Regions from separate parts of the Homo sapiens genome. Here all the other regions are linked to region 1. Evidence: promoter capture Hi-C in 16 types of primary human blood cells and fetal thymus (Javierre and others, 2016). All regions are on one chromosome and are shown on one strand. Each heading gives the region's core, a stretch centred on a gene start or on the middle of the fragment in contact. The rest is flanking DNA. Distances are from core to core; before and after follow the strand shown.

Region 1 (4,334 bases), core at 642-3,141:
TACCCGCTCCCCTTTGAAGATGGTGGTCCAAGGTGGATGTAGAGACAATATGGGCTTCTCCAGAGTAGCTGGGGTGGGGAGTGGGGTGAGAGGGGGCAGCATGCAAAGAGAATCAAGGTGAGGTGCCCAAAGAAACGACCTGAGTTTGGGAAATCTTAGGAAACCCCAGCTCGCAGGCCCCAGCCCATGTACTAACCCATCCCTGCAGGAGAGGAGATCACATTCATTGGGTTACAGACTACCAGTCCATCAGCCAGCACCCATTTCTAAATGCCTTCAAGCAAATTTAGTCCCAGGGGTTGACGAGAGTGGGAAGAGACACTATCCCAGCGCAGCCAAGAAGTGAGGAGTCTACTTGAAAAGGTCACTTAGGGGGTTGGAGTGGAAGCTGTAGAAAATTGGGATGAGAAATTTATAAGACTCACCAGCTTGCCCACTGCTTGGAACTGCAGAACAGGAAAGAAGGAAGAGGAAGGAGAAGGAGAATATTGGCGATGAGAGGAGAGAGACTCTTGACGACAAGAAAGGCTGAATGGTCCCAAAACCTGTTTTTCTTCTTCTGCCCCTGGTTTCCCAAGCTCTGAGAAAGCCCCTTCTTCTTCACCCCTCCAAAAAAAGATAATGAACCACTTGGAAACTGAGGATTGGATACCCACCCTCCTCTCCCCATACCTTGGTCCACCCTATTCTCCACCACCCAAAGCTCTTCTGCTGCCTCACTGTGGACTCACCCAGGAGCAGAAGGGCTGTCAGTGGCCACATGATGGATCTGACTGCAGCAGCTGCAGAAGGATGGAGATGCACTGGCATGAGATGGGGAACAGAGAGAAAGAATGTGGCCAGTGGATGCCACTGAGTACTAGGAGACATTGCTGCTTCTCCCACCCACTCCTAGTTCCTGAAGATAGCAGACCAGAACCAGTGGGAGACAGGCTGAATATCAGGTATCCCAAGTGCCAGGCACTGTCTCATCTACCGCATCTACAGCCACCTCACAGCTCAGGCCAGCCCTGACTACTGAAAGGAAGGCCTGCAGAACTTGTGCCCTCCACAGCACAAGAGAGCCCCATAGAACCCCAGGCTCCAGCAGATGACCCCGCCATCTTCAGGCTCCCATTGACATCCCACTCCCATCCCATCCCTTCTCCACCTTCCAGCCAGCCCTGCAAGGCTCAGCTGAGGAAGACACGGCCTCATGTCCTTAAGGACCTTTTTCCTGCTCACTCCTGATGACAGACATTGGCATGAGACCTAGAGAGGTCAGTGTTCGGTTGCCTGCCCCCAGAGCTCACATCCTGCCACAATGAGTAGACGAAAAGGCATGACTCACCAACCACCCTTCACATCCCTATCATCTAGTTCCCCAGTCAAGGATAGAAATGCAATGTGTTTCTTCTTCCTCCCTTCCTGAAATCTTGAGTTCTCATAAATTCTTAAATTCTTAAGAAGTTAGAAAACTCTTCTTTCCTACCCATCCCAATGAGCTCATCCTGTGGCACTTCCAATCACTTGTTCTTTTCTTCCTTCCTCCCACCCTTCCCTGCAACCCCTCCCCAGCCACGCCCCAGTTCCAGAACTCCTGACCTGCAGCAGAGAAGTCACTGCATCGGCCCCTCAGAAGCCTCTCAGATCTGACCTCGGGGCTCTACTTCTTGTGCTTTCTGAGCCATGTGACCGTACCTGAGCAATGAGGAGAACCTGAATTTTCATGTAAATACTTAATGAATTTTCCAGCCTGATAGTGTGTCTCCTTGGACTCTATCCTGTCCTTACCTGTGGTTGTTTAGAACCGGGGCACCTTGATCCCTTGGAAATCTGATGGGAAGGAGATCAATTATCAGGTACTGTCAACTCCCAGGAAGATAGTATCTTCCCCTCTTGCTGATGCCTGAAGTTCCACTCTGAGAGTCCCCTCATATTTTGCTTAATGGACTAGCCCCTTTTAAAAATGCAAATGCCTCTTAGGAAAATGTGACTGGTCATTTAAATTATGCTGGTCACTTCAGATCATGTTTTGAGTGCAGGTTTTGATAAAAGAGATAGAGTCCTGTAGATTTCAAACAAAGTAGGGACATATTTGACAATGTGCCCAAGAGTAGGGGAGGCAGAGAAGAACTAATTACTGGGAACAGGGATGATCACCTGCCTGCTTTAGGAGTGCCTGGGCTGACCAGCACTCTTGTGCTTCCCCTCCATCCTAATAATTCCTCGTCTCAGGGCCAGTGTGTGGCTTCCCACATGATCCACAGCCTGCCACAGAGGTCTGACTTCTGCACCAAGCCACCACCTCAATGGTAAGAATGCAATGCAGTTGTCAGCTGTCCTCTTAGGCAACACAAGCTGGCTCTATTTTGGCTTCTCATCCCCCAGAGCACAGATCTCAGCCCCTTTACTCGATTCAGAAGAAACCTTAGTACACCAAAACTTTGTGAACTGTATAGTCGTCCCTAGAAACCTCTGGAACCATCCATACTGTTCATATTATACAGTGCTCAGAATTTGACTTGAAAAATTTCCCACGAAATATTTATTTATTCTAGGCTCTCCTCTAAGTTTTTCCCAAAGTGAGTCTTTTTACTCCATCTAGGACTTTTCCCCAGAATTTCTAATTCTTCACTCCTTTACAATGCAGAAAAATTTAGAAATTATCATTTGTAACTTGAGCAATTATTTGAGGCCTATCACAACATAACATCTGGACAATATATGTCACCATTTGATAAGCATTCTGGTGATAAAGTGTTCTCAGTGATAATTACAGTAATGAACTAATGCTGTTGTTGCTGATGACAGCTCACTTTAGTGTCTCGGCATGTGGCAGGCACTATGCTAAGTGCTTCACAGATATTACTGCACTTAATTCTTGTAAGGCCCTTTGAGGAAGAATTATTAATATCCCAATTTTGCATATGAGGAAACTGAGATGATGAAACTGGGATTTGAATAGAAGTCTGTCTCCAAAATCTGTTCTCTTATCTCTCTGATTGTCAGGGATTCAAGATGCTGCTCATGGCCGGCTGTCATTATTGGTCTTTGCAAGTTCCCCCTCTTATTGTCTTACCTTGTTGACTTTCACCCACATTATTGTCCTCCTCCCCTCCACATAAGCACCCACTGTAAAATGTTTACTGTGTGTTCCCATATACATGCTATTTTTTTTTGTGCTTTAAGTTCTAGGGTACATGTGCACAACGTGCAGGTTTGTTACATATGTATACATGTGCCATGTTGGTGTGCTGCACCCATTAACTCGTCATTTACATTAGGTATAACATGCAGTTTTTAGCTTTGAGAAATATTTAGTGTTGTTAATTTACATAAGTGGCATTGTGTTCTAGATATTATATTCACTTCTACTTTTAAAAATTAATCCCAGATGTTTCAAATTTGTTCAGATTGCTCTACATGCATCATGTTTATTGCTTTTGACTGCCCTAATATTCTTTTTTTTTGAGACGCAGTTTTGCTCTTATTACCCAGTCTGGCATGCAATGGCATGATATCAGCTCACTGCAACCTCCACCTCCTGGGTTCAAGCAGTTCTCCTGCCTCAGCCTCCTGAGTAGCTGGGATTACAGGCGTGCATCACCACGCCTGGCTAATTTTGTGTTTTTAGCAGAGATGGGGTTTCACCATGTTGGCCAGGCTGGTCTTGGACTCCTGACCTCAGGTGATCCACCCACCTCAGCCTCCCAAAGTGCTGGGATTACAGGCATGAGCCACTGCGCCCAGCCATGACTGCCCTAATATTCTATGCTTCTGCTACACTGCACTTGTCCATTCCCCTAACATCCTAGTTGCTGCCCACCCTCAGCTACCACAGACAATTCCACAATGGACTTCTTGGTACATATTGTGAGGGCTGGATGAATTAACATATGTAAAGGGCTTAGAACAGGGGTTGGCACATAGGAAGTTTCATGTAAGTTAGTACTGGTAAGGACATGATGCTTCCCTACAGAGCCCTGAAGCGCCTTTATGGGATACACACCTGAGAGCAAGACTGCAGAATTATGTTCATGAGTTACATGCACACTCATTCCAAAACTCAAATCTAATTCATCAGCAAGTCCTGATGACTCTACCTGCTACATTGATCTTTTTGTACAGTAATTTATTCACTGAGTCGCTAGAGAGATACTTTTAAAATGTTAACCATATTGTGTTACTTTCTCTCAAAATTCCCCATAGGTACCCTCAGAATAAGTTCCAAACACCTTCCCATGGTCTACAGGGCCCTACAAATCGGGCCTTTCTCTGACCCTTGGCCTCATTTCCTACAACTCTCCCCCTCACTCACTCTGATCTAGCCACATTGTGTTTAGAACAGTTGC
Region 2 (4,334 bases), core at 1,835-4,334, 500 kb after region 1:
CCAGCTATGATCTCCCCTTTCCTGCTCCCATCGCCGGACATCCGGCATTCAAGACCCTCCACTCCTCTGCCCCTTCATCCTGAGACACCCAAGTGCCAAGTTCTCACCTTTGCATAGACGGTGCAGCTCATCGAAGCTCCCAGGGTTGGGCAGGGGTTCCTCTCGGCGGGGGCTCCGGCGGGGCAAAGTCCCCATTGGTGCCAGGCCCAATGTGTTCCCCATTTTAGTCCAGAGGACTGGGAAGAGCCGAGGTTAGCCTGTGAAAGGACGCTATTGCCCCTTTACCCCCCAACGGGCCCCACCCCCCATTATCCGGCTCCCCAGCCTCAGAAACTTCCACATGGTCCGACGCTACACCTGGAACAGGAAGAGTAGGGAAGGAGAGCACTCATGGAGAGACAACCCTAGGCACACTCCCGCCCCATCTTTGATCTCTCACCCCCACTTGTCACCCTTGTCCTCTCTCCCTTTCTCTGATCCTAGCCCCCACCACAGACTTCACCTAGCTCCCTAGCCTCTCTATTCTTCATTCCCAGGCCCCAAGACCAGGCCCGCAATGGTGCAGTATCCCTTACCATCTCAGACCATCATGCTGCCCCTTTCCCCCCGGCACACCCCGGTCATCTTGATGGGGGCAGCCATCTTGAGTGATGGCAGAACTGCAGCTTCACGCTGCATTCTTAGCGTGGCCGTAAGCGCCATCTTTGAATCTGGCAAAGAAAGCTGTCAAAGACCCAACCCAACCCTGATTGGGCCCCGCCCAATCAATGAAAAAAAAAAAAAAAAAAAAAAGCCTCGCTATTTACCATGGGCCAATGGGAAGGGAGGAAGAAAATGAGTGGCAGGTCTGACGGCCCAAGAGCTTCAACCCTGGAGCTGCAGAGGCGGGCAGGACTTGATTGGTGGCCCCTTAGACTTAAGTGGAAGGCTTTAGATCACTAGGCCTCTCCAAGGTCGGAAAAAAACTTGTGAGCGTACAAGACACTAGAGGGAGCATCTTGTAGCTTGGGCCACTGAAGCTCCTTCCACCCATGTAGTTTCATCCATGAGAAAAGTGGAACTACAGCTTGTAGACTGGCATAGTGTGAAGGGTGGCAGAAAGAACGATTATGAAGACTTCTTTGGAACCCTGGTTCATTTCTATCGCTCCCTTCTCTCCAAAGAACCCATGGGAAATCCTCCTCACAGCCCTCCACAGCACACCTCCAAATGAGTACTACTCATTAAGCGCAGCACTCCCTAGAACAGGGACCCACCCTTCTCTTCTGGAGGTCTACATCTCTCGAAGTCCCCGCTCTTGACCACTTGGTGGAATGGAAACGGGTGTGAGAGTTTGGCGCAGAGGAGTAAGTTCTAGCAGAACTATTCGCTGAAACAGCTGCTTTCTGTATTTAACCCTTCCTTCCCTGAGTCCCAAGGCAGAGTTGGCAAATAAAATCTAGGAATATGGAGCCTGGCCCCCAAAGGCACTCCATCCCAGGACCAGGGACAAGCCAAAGGGCTGACCTCAAGCACTAAGCGCTCCACAGGGGAATAATTGAAAATGGAGTAAGAGTTCTTGGTCTTGGAGGGTGAAGGGTGGGAGGAGGGAGAAGATCAGGAAAAATAACTAATGGATATTAGGCTTAATACCTGGGTGATGAAATAATCTGTACAACAAATCCCCATGACACAAGTTTACGTGTGTAACAAACTTGCATATATAGGCCAGGGGCGGTGGCTGATGCCTGTAATCCTAGCACTTTGGGAGGCCGAGGCGGGCAGATCACCTGAGGTCGGGAGTTCAAGACCAGCCTGACCAACATGGGGAAACCCCGTCTCTACTAAAAGTACAAAATTACCCGGGCGTGGTGGCGCATGTCTGTAATCCCAGCTACTTGGGATGCTGAGGCAGGAGAATCCTTGAACCCGGGAGGTGGAGGTTGCAGTGAGCCGAGATCATGCCATTACGCTCCAGCCTGAGCAACAAGAGCAAAACTCCGTCTCAGGAAAACAAACAAAAAAACCTGCACATATACTTCTGAATTTAAAACAAAAGTTAAAAAACAAAGATTTCTTGGTCTCTGGTCACTACCTCCCTCATCAGCTTTGCGCCTCCACTGTCACCCTCAGGAATGTTCCACATACTCAGCGAGTATGCTTGGGGGGCAAAAGGGTGAAAGATACAAAAGCTTCTGATATCTATTTAACTGATTTCACCCAAATGCTTTGAACCTGGGAATGTACCTCTCCCCCTCCCCCACCCCCAACAGGAGTGAGACAAGGGCCAGGGCTATTGCCCCTGCTGACTCAATATTGGCTAATCACTGCCTAGAACTGATAAGGTGATCAAATGACCAGGTGCCTTCAACCTTTACCCTGGTAGAAGCCTCTTATTCACCTCTTTTCCTGCCAGAGCCCTCCATTGGGAGGGGACGGGCGGAAGCTGTTTTCTGAATTTGTTTTACTGGGGGTAGGGTATGTTCAGTGATCAGCATCCAGGTCATTCTGGGCTCTCCTGTTTTCTCCCCGTCTCATTACACATTAACTCAAAAACGGACAAGATCATTTACACTTGCCCTCTTACCCGACCCTCATTCCCCTAACCCCCATAGCCCTCAACCCTGTCCCTGATTTCAATTCCTTTCTCCTTTCTTCTGCTCCCCAATATCTCTCTGCCAAGTTGCAGTAAAGTGGGATAAGGTTGAGAGATGAGATCTACCCATAATGGAATAAAGACACCATGAGCTTTCCATGGTATGATGGGTTGATGGTATTCCATGGGTTGATATGTCAGAGCTTTCCAGAGAAATAACTTGGAATCCTGCTTCCTGTTGCACTCAAGTCCAAGGACCTCAGATCTCAAAAGAATGAACCTCAAATATACCTGAAGTGTACCCCCTTAGCCTCCACTAAGAGCTGTACCCCCTGCCTCTCACCCCATCACCATGAGTCTTCCATGTGCTTGTCCTCTCCTCCCCCATTTCTCCAACTTGTTTATCCTCACATAATCCCTGCCCCACTGGGCCCATCCATAGTCCCTGTCACCTGACAGGGGGTGGGTAAACAGACAGGTATATAGCCCCTTCCTCTCCAGCCAGGGCAGGCACAGACACCAAGGACAGAGACGCTGGCTAGGTAAGATAAGGAGGCAAGATGTGTGAGCAGCATCCAAAGAGGCCTGGGCTTCAGTTGTGGAGAGGGAGAGAGCCAGGTTGGAATGGGCAGCAGGTAGGGAGATCCCTGGGGAGGAGCTGAAGCCCATTTGGCTTCAGTGTCCCCCAAACCCCCACCACCCTCTTCCTAGGCCGCCCTCCCCACTGTTACCAACATGAAGCTGCTCGCAGCAACTGTGCTACTCCTCACCATCTGCAGCCTTGAAGGTGGGTGTGATATGGAGAGGGGGCCAAAAGGGAGAATGTGCTGGTGGTTATAGCTACCTATCTGCCTGTGCTCTTATATCCAGGTCTGGCAACCAAAGGGCTCAAAAGGAAGATCATTCCCTCTCTAAAGCCCAGAAAGCCCATCCAAAGATCTGGCTGGATACCTTTTTGGGGAGGGGGCAGAGAGCTGGGGTGGGTACTGGCAGAGGTATGGCAGGAGGCCAGGATTCACTGCTGTGGACCCAGCTGAAAAGAGTGTGTGTGTGTGTGTGTGTGTGTGTGTGTGTGTGTGTGGGCAGGAGCTTTGGTTCGGAGACAGGCAAAGGAGCCATGTGTGGAGAGCCTGGTTTCTCAGTACTTCCAGACCGTGACTGACTATGGCAAGGACCTGATGGAGAAGGTCAAGAGCCCAGAGCTTCAGGCCGAGGCCAAGTAAGTCTCAGGGCAAGGGGTTCAGGGGCTGTGGAACTGTGGAGAGAAAGAAGGGAAGATGAGAGGTCCCACAGAAGTCTGAACCCAGGGGTGGGGATTAGGGCAGATTAGGCTTAAATTGCAGAGAAAAAGTATTTCATCACCCAAAGATCCCACACGTCTCTTAGATAGAGAGGAACAGCAAGAACTGGGCCTTGAATTTCAGTCTCTAGAGTCTGTCCCTCTACCTAGCAAAGGTCTTGACTCTATTCCTACCTAGGGGCTTTGCCATGCGATGGACCAGGCACTAGAGTTTGGGGACCTGAGTCAGTCTGCTCTGACCTCCCACCACCACCAAGGCCCCTGCCAGTGCCTAGGGTCCCTCAGATTAAACTCTAATCCCCTCACCTATCCAGGTCTTACTTTGAAAAGTCAAAGGAGCAGCTGACACCCCTGATCAAGAAGGCTGGAACGGAACTGGTTAACTTCTTGAGCTATTTCGTGGAACTTGGAACACAGCCTGCCACCCAGTGAAGTGTCCAGACCATTGTCTTCCAACCC
Region 3 (4,334 bases), core at 605-3,104, 310 kb before region 1:
AAATATTATCTTGAATTAATTATTATTAATGTCTTATTCATTCATGTTTCTTTAGTGTCTAACTCAGGACCTGGCACATAGATATTATACTCAATACCTGAGTGGATTTCACTTCAATTAGCTTTAAACTTAAATTTTATTATGTAAAGCTTAGTTTAATAAAAAGAAATTACCATGCTTGGCGTATGAGGAAATGCAAATTGTTCTTAAAACTGGGGAAATTCAGAGAAGGAAAAACTTATTTTCTTTGCTAAAATATCTTGAGGAAAAACATACTCTTCTGTACCCTTTCCCAGGATCAAACATTTATAATCTTTATAACATGAGTTCCTGAAGGCAAAGGTTTTTTGTCATCTTCATCTTTGTGTATTCAGCAGTTCACAGAGTGCCTGGCTCATAATATATATATTCAATAAATGAATTAAACTGAATTAAAGGAGAGAGAGAATGTAGAAGATCAGAGGCAAAATAAGAAGCCAGGAAAGCAGCAAAGCAGGGTGACCAGGGGAAAAAAGACCTCATTTTCAGTTGTGCTTTCCATCATTCCTTTCCAGCATTTTTATGGCAGTTCCCTGGCACAGCTCCCACTCTGCAGCGAGCCAGGGAAAGGAGATGGCAGAATGATGTTGCTCGTGGGACTTTGCCTTGCTCTTTGATTCTGCTGCCGTGGGGCAGGTGCATTTTCTCAATTACACACAAAGGTGGCAGGCCATTTCTAGCCACCTTGGCCCCACCTGGCAAATGAAGCCTTAATTTTCAACAGACAGACATTTCAGAGCAAAGTCAGGAGGCTCCTAGGTAAACGGGAAAACAGATGCTCTTGCCAGATGCAAACTGGCTCGTGAGGGATGGTGGTTGTGGTTGCTGAGGGATCCCCAGAATTCAACAACCTGCTAGCCAGCCACAACTGGTGAGGTCCAGGGTCTAAGATAGATGAAGTGGCACACTTACGGCTTTCTGAGACCCAGTTCTTGGAACATTTCCACAGTCTGTCCGTCTCTAAACCTGTTTCCTCATTTGTAAGAGGAAATGATACTGACTCAGGGGATTTCTGACCGTCAAATGATGCCTGGCACATGGGAAGCACTCAGTACAGAGTCGCCATCATACATATCACTGTGTTGGTGCTTCAATGACTTCATCTGTTAACCAGGGAGGGCAAGACTTATTTTACACCATGATGCGAGGATCCAGTGACGTGGAATTCATAGGCTCTGAGCAAAAGATGCAGGGATTTTTATGTGAATTTTATGCCGGTTTCCTCTATCCTGTGCTTTCCAGCTATGTTTTTTTTTTTTTTAACACAAGTAAAAAGCACTTAACCCAATTTGCTAAAGCCAAACCAAGCTCATCACAGAATCATCAGTTCAGGTTGCCAGGCAGGCAGGTAGAAGCAATGCCATGAGCAGTGTATCTTGATTTCTGAAAGACAGTGATAAAAGTCTCTCAAGAAATGCTTGTAGACATGATGAAGACATGTGGACTAGGCACCAACACCCATGACTGCCTGAACAGTCATACACCAAAACGGTTAACATCAATAAGGAGAGACTTTTCCTATTATGGAGGTAGAGCTCTAGAATATGGCCCTATCTGAAGGAAGATGGCTTTTTAAAATTAATCATTTGAACTAAGACAGAAACTATGCTTAGTGAATTTGGAAATTATGCAAAACCAGGACAAAAGCAAAAATAGCAATATTTCAACAGGATGAAAAAATGGACCAAAATCATCACACTGTTACAGTAAAAATGTAAACACCTATACTTGGATTAAAAAAAAAGAGAGAACATAGCTGGAAAGCACAGAATGGAGGAAACCAGTAAAAAATTCACACAAAAATAAATTTAAAAACTACACTTAAAAGATAAATCAGTGTGAGTCGTTGGTGCAATCTGGCTGCCAAAACTAAGGTAATCTTAGGCTGCATTAATAAAAGCACAGTGCCCAGAAAAAAAAAGAACAAATTGTTTCAATAGGTTCTAATATCTACTCAAACTGGAGTCTTTCTAGAGAGAAAATAACCAAAATAATGAAGAGTTTGGAAGGCCATGTGGTTTGAGAAACAGTTGAATATAATGGAGATAAAAGATGAAGAAAGTGGGCTAGTGATGTTGAGAAAGAGGATATTTAGAAGGTACTTAACCTTTTTTTTTTTTTTTTTTTTTTTGACAGAGTCTTTCTCTGTTGCCCAGGCTGGAGTGCATTGGTGTGATCTCGGCTCACTGCAACCTCTGCCTCCCCGGTTCAAGTGATTCTTCTGCCTTATCTTTCCAAGTAACTGGGATTACAGGCGTGTGCCACCAGGCCCAGCTAATTTTTGTATTTTTAACAGAGACAGGGTTTTGCCATGTTGGCCAGGCTAGTCTTGAACTCCTGACCTCAAGTAATCCACTTGCCTCGGCCTCCCAAAGTGTTGGGATTGCAGGCGTGAGCCACCATGCCCGGCCAGTACTTAACTATTTATCTTTAAGTGAAAGGAATGAAACTCTCCGTGAGAAAGTCCTTAGACATATTCTGTGTAGGACTGTAGGACTGGACATTAAAAGGTGACTTTAAAAGTAGACCCTAAAGGAAATATATTTTAGTTAGATAAGAGAAAGGACTCATGGTCATAAGATGGCTGCCACAGCTCCTGGCACTTTTGAAACAGCCCCTATAAACTTTATAAAATTAACCAGGGAAGAAGGAAAGGGAAGAAATGAAAATAAACCAAGTTCACAGCACATTCAGCAGTAATCGTGAGGTCTACTTGCTCTCTGACCTGTTTCCTCATAGTTACTCTGTGCCTATTGCCTCAGAATCACATAGATCCTGTTAAAAGATTATAAAGCCCCTTAACTGTTCTATAGAAAACAACTTGAACATTATGAAACATTATGTTTTCCCTTTGAGATACTCTTTTGGGTCCTGCATACTGATGAAGCTACTGACTCAGCTAGTTTGAAGGACCCCATGAGATCCTGACTCACCAAAGAAGGCAGTTTCCACATCCTGATGATAGAACTTTGTTCCATCGTCTTGGCCCAACCAATTAATAACCTCAATTTTTTAGCCACTCACTCTCCACAATCCCCTTAAATTAAAACGCCAGCCCAGAGCTCCTTGGAGAGATGGATTCAAGGGTCTCCTCCCATCTCCTGACGTGGTGCCCTGCAATCATCAAATTCTTTCTCTGCTGCAAACCCTGCTGACATAGTGTAATTGGTCTGTTACTGCACAGCGGGCATAAGAACCTGTTGGTCCTATAACACTTTGACTGTGGTCAAAGACACAATCAAAGACAAGAAGTGAGGGAAGAGTAGCACCAGAAAGGTCCTCTCTCCTATTTGTTTCTTTTATCAGGAAGCAAAATATCTTGTCCGGGTGGTTACCCCTAGCTGTAAAGGAGACTGGGAAATTGAATGTCTGGCACAGGGGTAGCTGGGACTTGCTTAAATCAATTATGACTAGGTCAAAAAGCCAATGCTGTAAGAATAATGGAGTGGAAAATGGAAAGAGCTTGGGTCCTCGCTGACATCACTGAGTTGCTGAATTAAATTTTAAACAGCCAAGCTTGTCTTCTTAGAGTGGGATAATAAATGTATATTTGACTGAGACATTCCTAGAAGGATTTTCTATCACTTGCAGTCAAATGCACCCTAATGGATACAGAGATGGTATTTATAAAGGTAACTGAGCCTACACCCAGTTGGACAATTCGTAATTTCCATTCATTCAACCAATATTTATTTAGTGTCCACTTTGTTCTAGGCACTGGTTAAACTCTGAAGATGTAATGGTGAGCAAAACTAACAAGGTCCTTGCCCTCTTGAATTTATAGTCTGGTGGGGAAGACAGGCACCCCCAAAACAACCCACAAAGGAGGAATATAAATATCCATCTCTCCTGCTTCTATGAAAAAGAGGTACATGGTATTATGGGAGCATTTAATAGAGAAATTATGCTGGTGGTGGAGTCAAGGAAGGCTGCCCTGAGAAGTGAGCAGCCATCTGAAATATGAATATGCACATTCAGGATTATGTCTTTGCCCAGAATGCTCTCTTTCTCTCCCCTGCCATGGCCCCCCCTCCCATCATGTTGCCTTATCCACTGTTTTGTTGAAACCTCCCATCATCCCAGTCATCTTCAGTATCATGCTTTCATGAAATCCACACTGACCTTTCCACTAGAAGTGACCTATTCCTTATTTAAACCCCATGAGATATGTTCTTACTCTGCCTCACAATTTCAGTGCTTGTTCTGCTTACCTCCTGACTCCCACGCCCACTTTGTAAGATGTGGACTATCTCATCTTCCCATTAAATGTCTAGCAACCTAGCTTGTTGTCTTGC

Evidence for each region. Contacts are between HindIII fragments. The CHiCAGO score rates a contact against its expected background, and 5 or more counts as called.
Region 2: a contact is called between the fragment with the promoter of APOA2 here and the fragment with the promoter of FCRLB in region 1, in 2 of 17 cell types (naive B cells and neutrophils). The highest score is 6.3, in naive B cells.
Region 3: a contact is called between a fragment that was not itself captured here and the fragment with the promoter of FCRLB in region 1, in 1 of 17 cell types (naive CD8 T cells). The highest score is 5.1, in naive CD8 T cells.

What each region holds. Positions count from the first base shown.
Region 1 is chr1:161,719,101-161,723,434 of GRCh38, reverse strand. FCRLB (Fc receptor like B) reads right to left here and starts at 1,891. Exons shown (of 8, transcript NM_001002901.4): 1 at 1,774-1,891; 2 at 1,585-1,680; 3 at 732-782; 4 at 426-446; 5 at 1-68. The coding sequence starts at 762. RefSeq lists enhancers at 830-929, 1,010-1,109. The HindIII fragment of the contact is 7,241 bases long and covers 1-4,334 here.
Region 2 is chr1:161,222,378-161,226,711 of GRCh38, reverse strand. APOA2 (apolipoprotein A2) reads left to right here and starts at 3,084. Exons shown (of 4, transcript NM_001643.2): 1 at 3,084-3,117; 2 at 3,287-3,362; 3 at 3,662-3,794; 4 at 4,190-4,334. The coding sequence starts at 3,311. The coding sequence ends at 4,307. TOMM40L (translocase of outer mitochondrial membrane 40 like) reads right to left here and starts at 652. Exons shown (of 10, transcript NM_032174.6): 1 at 576-652; 2 at 108-357. The coding sequence starts at 222. RefSeq lists enhancers at 607-676, 1,137-1,246. The HindIII fragment of the contact is 2,953 bases long and covers 2,174-4,334 here.
Region 3 is chr1:162,025,636-162,029,969 of GRCh38, reverse strand. No RefSeq gene overlaps it. Among named protein-coding and RNA genes, the nearest start is that of OLFML2B, 3.9 kb to the right of the region's middle. The HindIII fragment of the contact is 3,406 bases long and covers 152-3,557 here.